3 separate regions of the Homo sapiens genome follow, and regions 1 and 3 are each linked to region 2. Evidence: promoter capture Hi-C in 16 types of primary human blood cells and fetal thymus (Javierre and others, 2016). All regions are on one chromosome and are shown on one strand. The core of a region is centred on a gene start or on the middle of the fragment in contact, and the rest is flanking DNA. Distances in the headings are between cores, read along the strand shown. Region 1 has its middle 33 kb from the start of LINC02067. Region 2 holds the start of B3GALNT1 (beta-1,3-N-acetylgalactosaminyltransferase 1 (Globoside blood group)). Region 3 overlaps LINC02067 (long intergenic non-protein coding RNA 2067).

Region 1 (4,795 bases), core at 1,183-3,682, 350 kb before region 2:
ATGGGATACAGCAAAAGCAGTGCCAAGAGAGAAGTTTATAGCAATAAACGCCTATATTAAAGAAGTAGATAGATTTCAAAAAAACAACCTAATCATGTAGCTCAGAGAACCAGAAAACAAGAACAAACCAAATCCAAAATTAGTAGAAAAAAAAGAAATAAAAATTAGAGCAGAATTTTTAAATTGAAACTAAAAAATACAAAACATCAATGAAAAAATTGTTTTTTGTGAAAATAAACAAAATTGACAAATAACTAGCTACACTAACTAAGAAAATAAGAGAGAAGACCCAAATAGATAAAATCAAAAATTAAAAAGACGAGGAAAGAACAACTTATACCACAGAAATAAGAAGGATAATTAGAAATGTTTATGAAAAAACTGTCAACAAGTTGAAAAACATAGGGGAAATAGATAAATTTCTGGACATATATAACCTACAAAGATTGAACCAGGAAGATACAGAAAATCTGAGTTTACTAATAATGAGTAACAAGATTAAATTAGTGATAAAAAGTCTCCCAATTTAAAAAACAAAAAAAGCCCACAACCAAATAAATTTACTACTGATTCTACCAAACTTTGAAAGAACTAAAACAAATTCCTCTCAAACTATTCCAAAAAGTTGAAGGGGGAATTCTTTCTAACTCATTCTATGAGGCCAGCATTATCCTAATACCAAAAACAGACAAGGACACACAAAAAAGAAAACTGCAGACCAATAGCCCTAATGAAAACAGACTCAAAAATTCTCAAAAAAAATGTTAGCAAACTGACTCTAGCAGCACAACAGAAAGATAATACATCATGGTCAAATGGGGTTTATCCCAGGGATACAAAGATGACTTAACATATACAAATCAATAAATGCAATCTATCATATCAACAAAATGAAGAACAAAAAAAATGTGATCATCTCAATAGATGCAGAAAAAAATCATTTTATAAAATTCAACATCCCTTCATAATAAAAATTCTAAACAGAGTAGTTATAGAAGGAACATACCTCAACACTATAAAGGTTATATATGACAAACTCAAAGCTAACATCATACTGAATGAAACTGGAATGGAAAAAGACAAGGATGTCCACTTTCACCAATCTTATTCAACATAGTACTGAAAGTTCTAGCCAATTCAACAAGACAAAAGAAAAGAAATAACATCTAAATTGCAAAAAAAGGAAGTCAAATTGTCTCTCTTTGTGGATGACATAATCTCATACATAAAAAGGCCTAAAGCCCTCATCAGGAAAAAATGCTTAGAATGAATAAATGAATTCAGCAAAGTTGAAGGATAAAAAATCAACATACAAAAATTTCTACTGTTTTTATACACCAATAACAAACTACCTGAAAAAGAAATTAAGAATACAATTCCATTACAATACAAAAAGAGGCTAATTGACTCATGGTTTCACAGACTGTACAGGAAGCATGGCTAGGAAGGCCTTAGGAAACTTAGAATCATGGCAGAAGGCAAAAAGGAAGGAGGCACATTTTACATAACTGGAGCAGGAGGAAAAGAGAGAAGGGAGAGGTGTTACACACTTTTAAACAACCAGATCTCATGAGAACTCACTATTATGAGAATAGCAAGGGAGAAGTTTACATCCATGACCTAATTACCTTCCACCAGACCCCTCCTCCAACATTGGAGATTACAATTTGACATGATATTTGGGCAGGGACACAAATCCAAACCATATTATTCTTCCCCTGGTCCCTCCCAAATTTCATGTCCTTCTCACATTGCAAAATGCAATTATTTCTCCTCAACATTCCCCCAAGTCTCATTCATATGTGGGAGCTAAAAAAGTTGAGTTCTGAATTAGAAAAGAGAATTGTGGTTATTAGAGAATATGAAGGGTAGAGGGGAAGGGAGAACAAGGAGAGTCTGATTAATGGATATAAAGTTATGGCTAAATAGGAGGAATAAGTTATAGTGTTCTATAGCACTGTAGGGTGACTACAGTTAATAATAACTGATTATATATTCTCCAATAGCCAGAAGAGAGGATTTTCAATGGTCCCAATAGAAAGAAATAATAAAACTTTGAGGTGATGTATATGGTAATTACTCTGATTATAATCACATTGTATACATGTAACAAAATATTACTCTGTATCCCATAAATATGTACAATTATTACATGATAATTGAAAATAAATTTTTAAAAATAAATACAATAAAGATAAATCAACATAAGACAGGTTGATAGGAGAAAAACCATTTTAATTACATGCATACACATGGAAATCCCACAAAATATGAAACCCAAAGAAGCTCAGATAATTAAAGCTTATATAGCATCCTGAATTTCAGCAAAGAATAAAGGCTTGGGGTCTATGGAGAATGGTAGAAACAAGTTATGGGAAGCTGAGGGGAGAAAATGTATAGTGAATAAAATCTGTCTTATTATACAGATAAAAAGTCTCTCAGATAAGAAAAGTTGTCTTGGAGCAGCCCTCTTCCTGATGCAGATATCTTTACTAATGCAGATATCTTTACTAATGCAGATTTACTTTATAGTTGCAAATTTTCTTTATAAAAGGGAAGCTTTTAGGAGTTACTCCTGTATCTGCAGTTTCTCAAAATAACCTGTGCGAAATATGCTAAAGATGTGTATTTTGGGGTGGCATGTTCTGGTTACTCACATTCATATTTTGGGGTGGTATGTCCTGAGCCCCAACAAGTACAAATAGTTTATTGTGCTCAATAGGACCAAAGGAGGAGTGGGAAGTGAGACAGGGCAGGGAAGGAAACATATATATGGTGAGTTATCAGGGAGATTATTCCTATGGACAAAAACGTCTCAATACCATCTGAGAACTCAGGGACAGTGTGGAACACACTTCAGAATTATTCCACCTGATGGGTTAGGATGCTGGGGTTTTTATTCACCCACTGGCCATCTGTCATTTTTTTTTTGGATTTTTGTTTCATTTGGTTTGGGTTGAAGTTTTTTTTAGTGTTTCCCAGACATGCTTTTATAATTTTCTATGGTAAGAACACTTAACATGAGATCTACCCTCTTAATAGATTTTTAAGTGCACCATACAATATTATTATCTATATGCATAATGTTGCCCATCAGATCTTTAGAACTCATTCATCTTGTGTCACCAAAATTTTGGGCCTATTGATTAATGACTCACCATTTCTCCCTTCCTCTAAGCCCTGGCAATCACCATTTTATTCCTTACTTCTATGAATTTGACTATTTTAGATAGTTCATACAAGTGAAATCATGAACAACTTGTCCTTCTGTGACTGATTTATTTCACATGACATTGGTCTGTCAATTATTTTACGAATATTACACCAAAAGCAAAAATAAACAAACTACATCAAACTAAAAAGCTTCTGCACAGCAAAAGAAACAATCAAAAGAGCAAAAAGGGGCTGGGGGTGATGGCTCATGCCTGTAATCTCAGCAATTTGGGAGGCCAAGGTGGGTAGATGCCTTGACCCCAGGAGTTCAAGACCAGCCTTGGAAACATGGTGAAACCTCATCGCTGTTAAAAATGCAAAACTTAGCAAGTCTCATAACTCAGTCTCAAAATAAATAATTAAATAAAAATTTTAAAACAGAGAGCAAAAAGGAAGCCAACAGATGTGAGAAATTATTTACAAACAATATGTATAATAAGGGTTTCATTTCTAAAACATATAAGGACCTCCTACAACTCAATAGCAAAAAATAAACTAATGGCCCAATTAAATAAATGAGCTAAGGACTTGAAGAGACATTTCTCCAAAGAAGGCATACAAATAGCCAACAGCTACGTGAAAAGGTACTCAACAAAAGCTAAATCCAAATCAAAACTATTATGAGATATCATCTCACACTTTTTAGGATGACTACTATCAAGAAACAAAAGACAGCAATTGTTGGCAAGGATGTGGAGAAACTGGTGCACTGTAGGTGGAAATGAAAACTGGTGCAGCCATTAGGGAAAACAGTATGAAGGCTTCTTTAAGCCTTAAAAATAGAGCTACCATAATATCCAGCTATCTCATTTCTTGGTATTTACCCAAAAGAATTGAAATCAAGATCTCAGAGAGATATTAGTATTCTCATATTCATTGCAGGACTATTCACAAAGCCAATATGAAGAAACAACCTAAATATCCACCAACAGTTGAATGGATTTTTAAAACATAACATATATATATATATATATATATATATATATATATATATATATATATACACAGTAATGCCATTCAGCCTTAAAAGAGAAGGAAATCCTGCAATATGCAACATGGATGAGCCTTAGGAAATTATGCTAAGTGAAATAAGTCAACCGATTTTGTTTACCTAGTATCCTAACACTTTGCCAACTTTACATATTACTTCTAGTAACCTTTTACAGATTCCTCAGGATTTTCTACATAAATTATCATGCTGTCTATGTATAAAGATGGTCTTATTTCTTCCTTTCCAATCTGTATGACTTCTATTTCTCTTCCTTGCCTATTTCACTGACTATGACCTCTACTACAACGTTAAGGAGAAGTAGTGAGAGTAGACACTTTTGCCATGTTACCAATATTGAGAGGAAATCATTCAGCCTTTTATCAAGTACAATGTTAGCTGGAAGTTTTTAATAGATGCCTTTTATCAAGTTGAGAAAATTCTCTTATATTCCTAGATTTTAATAATTTTTATTTGAAAAGAATGTTGATTTTTGTCAAATGTTTTTCCACATCTTTTTAAGACGTTCATACTTTTTTTCTTTTTGTCTGTTAATATTGTAAATTACATTGACTGTGAAACCAACCTTGCATT
Region 2 (4,973 bases), core at 1,334-3,833:
AATTTTCATCTGCAGACAAATTTAAGGTTAAAATGTAATATAGCCTTAAAGGTGACTGCTAGTTCAAACTTATCATTAGGCATATGGCTTCCTAACTCTTGATTATATGTTCGGAAAATTGCTAGGAAGGTTTCCATCTTATTGGTCAGATGGTATGTGAGTGTGACATATAACTCTTTGATGTGTGCTTTTCTTCTGGAATTTGTAGATAGTGCAGGATACTTAAATTTATTTTGCTTTTGTGAAGTAAGCAAATAACCTGACTTTAAACCTCAGTAAGGCTATTCAGCTAAATTCCATATATATCTATTGAAGATATATTACAGCAAGGCAGTGCGGTAGGGCCTGTCTCTTCCCTCAGGTTGCTGATAATCTCATGGCAGAGACATCTGTAAACAAGTTCTGAGGCAAGTGAGTGCTCACAGAATTATAAACAGGTTTGGGTAGTTTGGGGAGAGAAGTGAGTAAGAACAATAGCTGCCATCAGATATCATAAATTTGAAGTTTGATGATTTACTTTCAAGAATAAGGTTCCTGCCACTTAGTTTAGCTAGTTCTGGCCACATTATCTGCAGCTCCTTCCATCAAGAGGCAGAGACTATTTGCCTGCCCCTTGGATTTGGAGAGGCCTCACAATTTGCTTTGATTTGTAGAATTTGGCATATATGATCTTGTGTGACTCCCAAGTCTAGGCCTTAAGAAATTTTACAGCTTCTGCCTGCTCTCTTCTGGATGTTGCCCACAGACCAAAAACATAGCCTACTGCAGGATAAGAGGCCACATGGAGCCAACAGCAGACACATGAGTGAGGCCACCTTGGACTTTCAGCTTAGCTGATTCTCCAGTTCAGGGATCAGCAAACTACAGCCTGTAGGCCATAGCCTGCTTCTGTATGGCCCTTGAGCTATGAATAGCTTTGGGTTTTTAATAGTTTATAAAAATTAAATAAAAAAGAATATGTGACAGAGACAAAGTCTAAAATATTTACTATCTGATCCTGTTTTACAGAAAACTTGGCCAACCCCTGCTACAGCTGAATGTATCTATACGAGTGAGCCAAATCAAAACCAGAGAGGAACCACATAACCAACCTTCAGAATTATGAGAAATATTAAATTGACATTTTTGCAAGCAACTATATTTTGGGAGAGTTCGATCTGCAGCAATAGATGACTCAATCACAAGCTGATAAATGCTACACAAAGAAAAAGGAGACTGCTTCAAAGGAAATAATCTCATAAAGGTTTTGGGCCTTTTTGTCTCACTTACTTCATTTAGGAGAATTTCTTACCCCAATCTGTTGTCCATGGCTCTGCTTTGCATTCCAGGGAAGTTTTGGCAGCTATGAGCACATATACCTGCTGGTTACTCAAAGGACATTCAAAACATTTTAAAAATGAGTATTGAAATACAACTTTTCTAAAATTTTAAGAAACGGAATTTGTAAAATATAGTATTAATGCCCTAAAGCATTCTTCCAAATAAGAGGTCTATTTTTTCAGCATATTAATCTATCTGCAGTGAAACCTGTCTGGTTTTGTTATTAATGGACCTCCTTGACTTAGTGAGGTGAACTGTCAGCCCAGGTAGGGTGAAGAATGGCTGTGATAAAGGCGTGCAGCAGGGCAGCAATCACTTTACCCTCTGCAAAGGACACAGCTACCTGCCAAGGCTGGAACCAGGAAAACAATCTCAACCATAATTTAGATCTGATTATTATAATTTAGATCTGATTATTTATGCAGTGTCAACTAAGTCCTTGACTTACACTGCTACTATCTAAACTTACTTTTGTTGTATATCCATTTTGATCTCTATATTCACCCCTATTATTTTCAGAGAACCTTCAAACTATCCTAAGTAATTTTGCAGAAAAAGGCTATAAGGAAGAAGCAGTCAGGCCAAAGAGTCAGTAAACAAAAAGAAATGGTGGGCCACGTTTAGTCTTGATGCAAATGTGTGGGTTACAATCAGGGGTGGTGCTCATGGCTGAGCTTGGTAGTGGTTAAATACATGATCCAGACCCACTTGATTTTGAGGAAAGGACCAGTACAATCAATACTGCACATCTTGGTAAAAGGAGTTTGAGGAGATGGATCTGGGAGTTTAGGTCAGCTATGCTCAGGTGTACAAAAGCAACTCCCTGGGACTCCCATCCATACACAGGCCATTGAAACCTGACGTGTCTCTCTTACCCCCATTCCATTCCCCATCGATTCCGGAAGAAGAACTGGCATTTCTTCTGAGACAGCAAAGAACTCCTCCTAAGATTTCCTCTTTCCTAATTAGTTCTGTATGAAGTTTAACAAGAAAATCCCTCCAGGGCCGCCTCGAGGCCATGCACTCACGCAGTTTGGAAAGACGACCAGGGAAAAAGGATCTCAAACAAAAATTCTAGCTCGACGTCTGCCACTAAGTTGTCTAATTTTGGCCAGCATCAACTAAAGGCATACATAACACGGCCGTGCTCGGAATGCAAGGTGACCGCGAGGACCCAGAGGGCGCGCCATGCGAGCTCACAGGGCTGGGGGCCGCCTGGGCCCGCGCGTGCAGCCAGGGGCTTCCGGCCGCGGCCCTGGCGCGTGGTCTGCGCGCGCCCGGCCGTGCGTGCGGATGCGGGGAGGCTGCGTGTGTGCGCAGGGAGAGAACGCCGGCCACCTTCCCGCTTCCGAGCTGGGTGCGCGCCGAGCACAGGAGGTGAGTGAGAAGGGCGGCCCTGCAGGGTCTCCGAGGCGGTTGAGTCCTGCCACTGGGTGGAGGGTATAGCCACCGGACCCGCCTTTCCCGGAACGCGCCGTCCTCGGAAACGCCTAGACCCCGGCAGCTAGGCCGGGAGGCACCGCCCACTCCTCTAGAGCGGAGCGTGGCCCAGGTTGAGCCGCCGCACCGTGGGTCTCGGGTCTCGGTGACGAGCAGCTGCCCGCCTCCGGTGAGCGCGGGAGAAGGGGCCCAGTGGGGCAGTGGGCGACGCGGAGGGCCCAGGCCCAGGCCGCGGCCGCGCCGCATCCGCTGGTTGTCCACCTTGCCTTGCCCCAGGGTGCAATACCTGCCTTGCGTCGCCCGTGCCGCTCCAGCCACCGTCAAATCCGGGTAGCGACCCGGGGCGTTTGCAGCGGTGCCGAGGAAGAGGACGGGAACGGTGTTACGGTATTGGTGGGCCCCTAACAGGCCTGCGGCGAACGCTTTCCCGGAGCGCTAGGGAAGGGCCCCGGCGCAGGGATGTCGGAGGGATTGGGAAGGAATGTGAAACTAAGTGGGGAATGTGGAGAACGGGCGGAGAGAGAAGGAAATCCCACGGGGCTAGGGCTACAGGATTCCTACAGGCAGTGTTAAGGAACATACAGGGCGTTTTAAAAAGATTCCTAGAGGTGCAACGGAGTCTCACTTTTCCAAGCAGTAAGGAATGATGCCATCCTCAAGTACGGGTAGTCTTTGAATTCAGTATCCGTTCGCCTTCTTAATGTTGGATTTAGGAGGGAGATTTGCAGGGCTTTCATGATTTTGTTTCCTCTGCGTTTTGCACAGATTGCCTGCGTTTAGGAGGTGGCTGCGTTGTGGGAAAAGCTATCAAGGAAGAAATTGCCAAACCATGTCTTTTTTTCTGTTTTCAGAGGTAAGGAAAATTTGGGTTTGCAGTGTTCAACTGGGAACAAGTTTTTTAGCTTCTCCCAGGAGGCTTAAGCAAAAGAAGGGCGCTGAATTTGTGCTCTTAGTATGCATGTGTCGATGCCTGATAAAAGCACAAATTACTGAACGCGTATCAGTCTGGAGAACAGAATCGTTTATTACTAACAGATAAGAGACTATGACTTTTTTCCCCTCATAGACTAAAATGTTCGTTCAAATGAATGGCCATTGGATAACTCCAGACCTGAAAATAAACACTGTTGTCAAAACAGCATCCAGGCCGGGCGCGGTGGCTCACGCCAGTAATTCCAGCACTTTGGGAGGCCGAGGCGGGCAGATCACCTCAGGTCGGGAGTTCGAGATCGGCTTGGCCAACGTGGTGAAACCCCGTCTCTACTAAATATACAAAATTAGCTGGGTGTGGTGGCACACACCTGAAATCCCAGTTCCTCGGGGGGCTGAGGCAGGAGAATTGCTCGAACCCGGGAGGCAGAGGTTGCAGTGAGCCGAGATTGTGCCATTGCACTCCAGCCTGGGCAACAGAGTGAGACTCCATCTCCAAAACAAACAAAAAACAAAAAAACAGTGTCCAAGTATAATTTCAGATTAGAGCATGAGGTGATTTGAAAGCGAGAAGAGAGGATCAAGGCTTTTCCAAAAATGAAAAAAGTGTTGATATGTAATAAATGGCTCCAAAAACAACTTGCTAAGTATACAACATTGATTTTAGATGTCATAATTCCTAATGTTATGACTCATATATATTTTTTTCTGTTCTTCTGTTCAGTAGTTCACAACAGATCTGAGTGTTTTAATTAAGCATGGAATACAGAAAACAACAAAAAACTTAAGCTTTAATTTCATCTGGAATTCCACAGGTAAGTTCATCTACTTTTAACTTATAAATTATCCTAATTGGTTAAAAATGCCCATAATAATGCCCTTTACAAGGTTTTAAGTATCGTTGATGCAGCCACGAAGTTTGTTGTATATTCTAGTACGATTCTTTCATCAGAGGATTTGAAGAAATTCAAGAGTGAAGCTCTACTAAGCCATTTTGGATAATATATTTTTTTCTTTTTTCTTGCTTGAAAAATAGAGACAAGGCCACTTTATGTTTCCCAGGCTGGACTGGAACCCCTGGGCTCAAATGATCCTCCTACCTAAGCCTGCAGAGTAGCGAGGACTTCAGGTGTGTGCCACCTCACCCGGCTCTAATAATATATATATTTTCTAAAAAATTGAATTATTAAAATACCATGGTTCTTCAGGAAAACCCAATAACTATAAAAAGTTAATTTGGTGGGTCATATTCAACTTCAAGTTCTGACTCAATTCCCTTTATG
Region 3 (4,361 bases), core at 385-2,884, 340 kb before region 2:
TTTTAAAAGTAGATTTACTTTCTTTTTCTCTCAAGAAAAGGAAAGTTCCATGTGACATTCAATCACTTATTACCAGATTTGCTCTTGGGAAAGCCAGTAAATGGTGGAATAGAGAAGAACTTTGTATCTTGCTCCCATCTCTTGACAAAACATCTTGAAATGATGCCGTTATAAATTTAACACTTTTCATAGCAGTAAGCAAAGCTTCCTTCAAAAATTTTGAAAAGGCTTTTGATGCCAATGCATGCCCATGTCAACAACAGTGAATCACCCTGACATGTTACCAAGCAGTAAAGCGCAGGGTGGTGCCAAGCATTACAGGGGTCCTGTCTGCACACAAGAAATTGAGATTTTTCTTTCAGGCAAATTTTGCTTGGCTAAGAAACACTGCATCATTTTGAAACTGTTGACAACCTTTACAGTTTCCAAAAGAGGTTCACAAAATGGGACTTCTTGGATAGCATCAGAATGCACACAATAGACAATCAATAGGAGCTGGCTACACTGAAAAACACTGTGGAAGAAACTAGTGTTGACTTTATGATCAGTCATGAAACATTAGGAGAAATGTCAACAGCTACATAGAGAATTGTGTAATTTAGGAAAGACACTACTTCAATTATCTTCCCTGCCCCATGCTACTCCTAGCTTGACTATTCCCAGGGCACACGGTTTCATCAAGATCTCTCGATGTGAGTAGTTTCTTTCTTTCCTGGTGCCCAATTAGCATTCTAACAGGCATCAAGTCAAGGCTTTTATTTAGGGTCAAATATGAGTGTGTATAAAATCCTGGCTGTTTCAAATCAAGTCTTTGTTTCAAGAAAAAGATTCACACTTTCCAATGAGTTTCAGAATGGTCAGACATGAAGTATCTCCTTGGTTTTGTTTGGGATTTGGGATACCATTGACAAGAACTCAGCCACACAGGAATCATGCCAGCTTTTGTGTTGGTGATAAAAGAGAAACCCAATGAAATATACATTTCATCATTTTAACCATGTGAGTATCTCAATTACAAAATATAAGCCTCTTCTCATTCCTGCTAGGCTGATAGAATGAGTTCAGTTTTCTGTTATAAGCAGAAACAGCTTCTCCCACCTCCTCAGGTTTCCAACACAGCTCAGAGCAGGCAGACGTTTCCAGCTCTCCCCATCCATGTTGGGTACTTCCACACATTCCCCCTTACTCTTCTTCCTAGAAGAAGAAGATTATCAATGGATAGGTCATTGGCCTGCATTTTATGAGCCGCTGAGGCTGCTTTTTCTTAAAAGGCTAGCAGCCATGTTCTGGTGTTTCTCTTCTATTCTGTTTTTTAGTCTAATTAGCACGTGTATGTGGCTCTGGTTCTTTGGAGCAAGTTCATAACGTTTTCTGCATTCCAGCAGCTCCTCCCTAGACTGGGAAGATAAGTCTGCTCAAAATCTTCTCTTCAGATCCAGCCATCTTAGTTCTGAAAAAGCCTGTTCAAGCCTCGGGCCTTAGTAGCTCTCCTGTCCTCTAACTTAGCTTACCAGAACAGCCATATTATAGAGGGATATTAGTCAAGGATTCAATCAGGAAAATAGAAAGCTCTCTAATTATTTAAAACAGAAAAGAACCTAATCCAGAGAATTAAGCTACTATACTATTGGAAGGCCTAGAGGAAGACAAGAGGGGAAAGTAATGTCTCTCAGAGACCAGGACCTGCAGGAGGCCACACTGGTCTGCCCTAAGCAGTGGGCAGCCATCACAGAGCACACATGCACTGCTGCTGCTGCCACTACTCCTGCCACTGGCACCTTGCAAGCATTCACAGGTGCATGTCAGCAATGCAGCTGGAACCAGAAGTCTAGGGCCTTCAAGTGACTTCTACCCGCTCCCTCTCATCACACAGGAGTCCATCCCATTAGAAGAACCAAACTGGAAACCAGCTGTCAAGGGGGTCTGGGAAAGGTGGTTCTCAGGAGTTCTGCCCCAGTGGTACAAGACAGGTATAGGCCTGAGTACTCCCAGACAATAACAGGTACATTGGTAATTATAATCATTTAATAAATAGTCATGTTGTTTTCTTTCTAGCTCCCAATCTTTGTGTATTGCCTTCTGCCAGAACTCTACAATAAAGGAGGAATGGAAGTGAAATTTGGGCAACAAACTCTATCTGAACCCTAATATTTTTTCTGCATTTGCCAAAAGCAGGTATAGCAATTTCAATGACTTATCATTCAAATCAGAGTAGTTTATTAATTTTGTAATAAAACCATACATACAGACACAAATTTTATATGAAGCAGTAAAAGAATATCCTATAACCCACACGCAAGAAAGTAATTTTGTGAACCTCTAATAATGGGGTGATTTCTGAGTTTCTGCTGAGTCCCGTGCTAAAGGTAGGCCAGAATGTGTGTTTGAAGAGAATGACAATTGAGAGAAAGGGGTGAAGGTTTGGGGGATGAGTTGGGGGGAAATTGTTTTATTTTCTACTGAAAGGACTGGATGGAGGAGAAAGAGAGAAAGAGTAGAAGAAGTAGGAGAGAGTGGCCAAAACAATTTTAAGAGCAGAGATGCCTAATACTCACTCTTACTTTGTTTGAAATGTTGTGATAATGAGTTTCCTTTTATATCCATACACATTGAGTGGGGTTTTAAAAGAAAACAAAGAGCTGATTTCACACTCAGATTGATGCCAGAGAGGAGGTAAAGAAAAAGTCACAAAGCACAGAATGGAGAACCAGAACTCAAGAAAGAAGAAATCAGACTCAGAGATGCCCCAAGGGTGTGTCCCTAGAGAGTCCACAAAAATCTTGGGAACAGCACTGGACTTTCCCACAGAGTGTGGAATAGAGACTAAGTCAAACCTTTCTAGATCTTAGGGAGAATGATACTTATGTTATACTTTTGTACACTTGACTCATAGGAAATTTGGTACAATAGGAGTTCCATTGCTATGAGCCTCAAGTGTCTGCTATGGTACCATTGGTAGACTGGGCTATCCTGAGCCAGCCCTTTTTTGTCACCATTGCATTATATCCATGGGCCTGGCATCTAGCTACAGATCACAGTAAGGAAAGAGAACACAGAAGCTTGAGCCAATTGTTCCTTTATAAAAGTCAGTTTTGCAGTTTTATATAGATCTAACATTCAAAATGGCCTATGGTCACTTAATAGGAATTCCACGGCTGGTTAGCAGTGGCTAGATTGGGGCATTAAAGTTAGCCTGGTATTTTTTCATTGTCTTCAAATATTATTGTGGCATAGACAGGCATGGGAAGTTAAAGTAAACTAAAATTACAAATGCCATCCAAAGGTGGGGAAAGGGAGATAAAAAGAGTATTACGTCCTGATTTCTTATCTTCTATTGAGATACCTTCCTATTAATTCTTTGCCTGAAATCACAAGCATTTATTAGATTCGAAAGATGTGCTTACTTAAGGGAAGAAAAATAGAGGTAACCTAGGCATTCAGAAGGAATCATCTAAGTTTGTATGTTTGTGCATCTTTGTGGTGAGTGTGTATATATTTAATTTGAAGAGTTTAGGAGTGTTAGGTTTTCCAAGCTACTATATTTATAGTCACATTTTATTTTCTTCAACATTTTCTAATTGTATGTTAGACCCAATATCAACAAACAAACAAAAATATTAATAATCATAATGGCAGAGCACATTTGCTTTAATTCTAATCAATAAATCTTAGATTATATGACATGATAACAATCCATTTTTAGCTCGTAAACAGTTGCAGTACAAGATATTTGAGCTGAAACAAACCACAATAATGTAATTTTATATATTAACATAAAACATTTTTTCATAATACCATTTTCTGAAAAACAGGAAGAAAATTTGAAAAAAAATTTTAAGTCTAAGTATTTGTATACCTGGTTTTTAAACTCCTGATATGTCCCCTAGAAGGTAACTCATTGGCCATGGCTTTAAAACTCCTGGCATAGTGTGTGCTTGGTGACAATGGATTGCTGTCTGTCAAAAAGCAGAAGGCTTGCATAGTGGAGAAAGGTTAAGAAAAGGCTGCAGTCAGATGGAGCTAGCACTAAAGACCCACTCAAGGAAGATGGACTTAATCCTACAAGTCAGCAAGAGCCACCTGCTACAGAGGAGCTTTTTGACAATGCAGTTTCTTGGGCACTACCTCAGATCTAATAAATCAGATCATCAGGGGCAGGGCCTGGGGATCTGTATTTTTCATGGCCCTCCAGGTGATTCTTACTCATGCTAGTATTTGAGAACAACTTCTTTAGGTGGCGATGGACTTTTGCAGGCATGGGGCTTTTATTTGCTATTTTTTTATTTGTTTAAAGCAGAGGGGTATAATAAAAACACAAATTTTAGTGTTTAGTGGTAGGCTGGGCACAAGGAGTCCTAGTA

The links. The method cuts DNA at HindIII sites, captures the fragments that hold promoters and counts their contacts. A CHiCAGO score of 5 or more calls a contact.
Region 1: a contact is called between a fragment that was not itself captured here and the fragment with the promoter of B3GALNT1 in region 2, in 1 of 17 cell types (total CD8 T cells). The highest score is 5.6, in total CD8 T cells.
Region 3: a contact is called between a fragment that was not itself captured here and the fragment with the promoter of B3GALNT1 in region 2, in 2 of 17 cell types (total CD4 T cells and naive CD4 T cells). The highest score is 6.7, in total CD4 T cells.

Annotation. Positions count from the first base shown.
Region 1 is chr3:161,456,948-161,461,742 of GRCh38, reverse strand. No RefSeq gene overlaps it. Among named protein-coding and RNA genes, the nearest start is that of LINC02067, 33 kb to the right of the region's middle. The HindIII fragment of the contact is 258 bases long and covers 2,304-2,561 here.
Region 2 is chr3:161,102,959-161,107,931 of GRCh38, reverse strand. B3GALNT1 (beta-1,3-N-acetylgalactosaminyltransferase 1 (Globoside blood group)) reads left to right here and starts at 2,583. Exons shown (of 5, transcript NM_003781.4): 1 at 2,583-2,697; 2 at 3,526-3,613; 3 at 4,415-4,505. It overlaps LOC124909453 (a long non-coding RNA gene), which reads right to left and starts at 3,251. Exons shown (of 2, transcript XR_007096147.1): 1 at 3,047-3,251; 2 at 1-1,361. RefSeq lists silencers at 2,679-2,768, 2,779-3,028. The HindIII fragment of the contact is 4,654 bases long and covers 1-4,481 here.
Region 3 is chr3:161,440,434-161,444,794 of GRCh38, reverse strand. LINC02067 (long intergenic non-protein coding RNA 2067) reads right to left here. Exons shown (of 4, transcript NR_102265.2): 3 at 1,099-1,194. Among named protein-coding and RNA genes, the nearest start is that of LINC02067, 16 kb to the right of the region's middle. The HindIII fragment of the contact is 2,855 bases long and covers 207-3,061 here.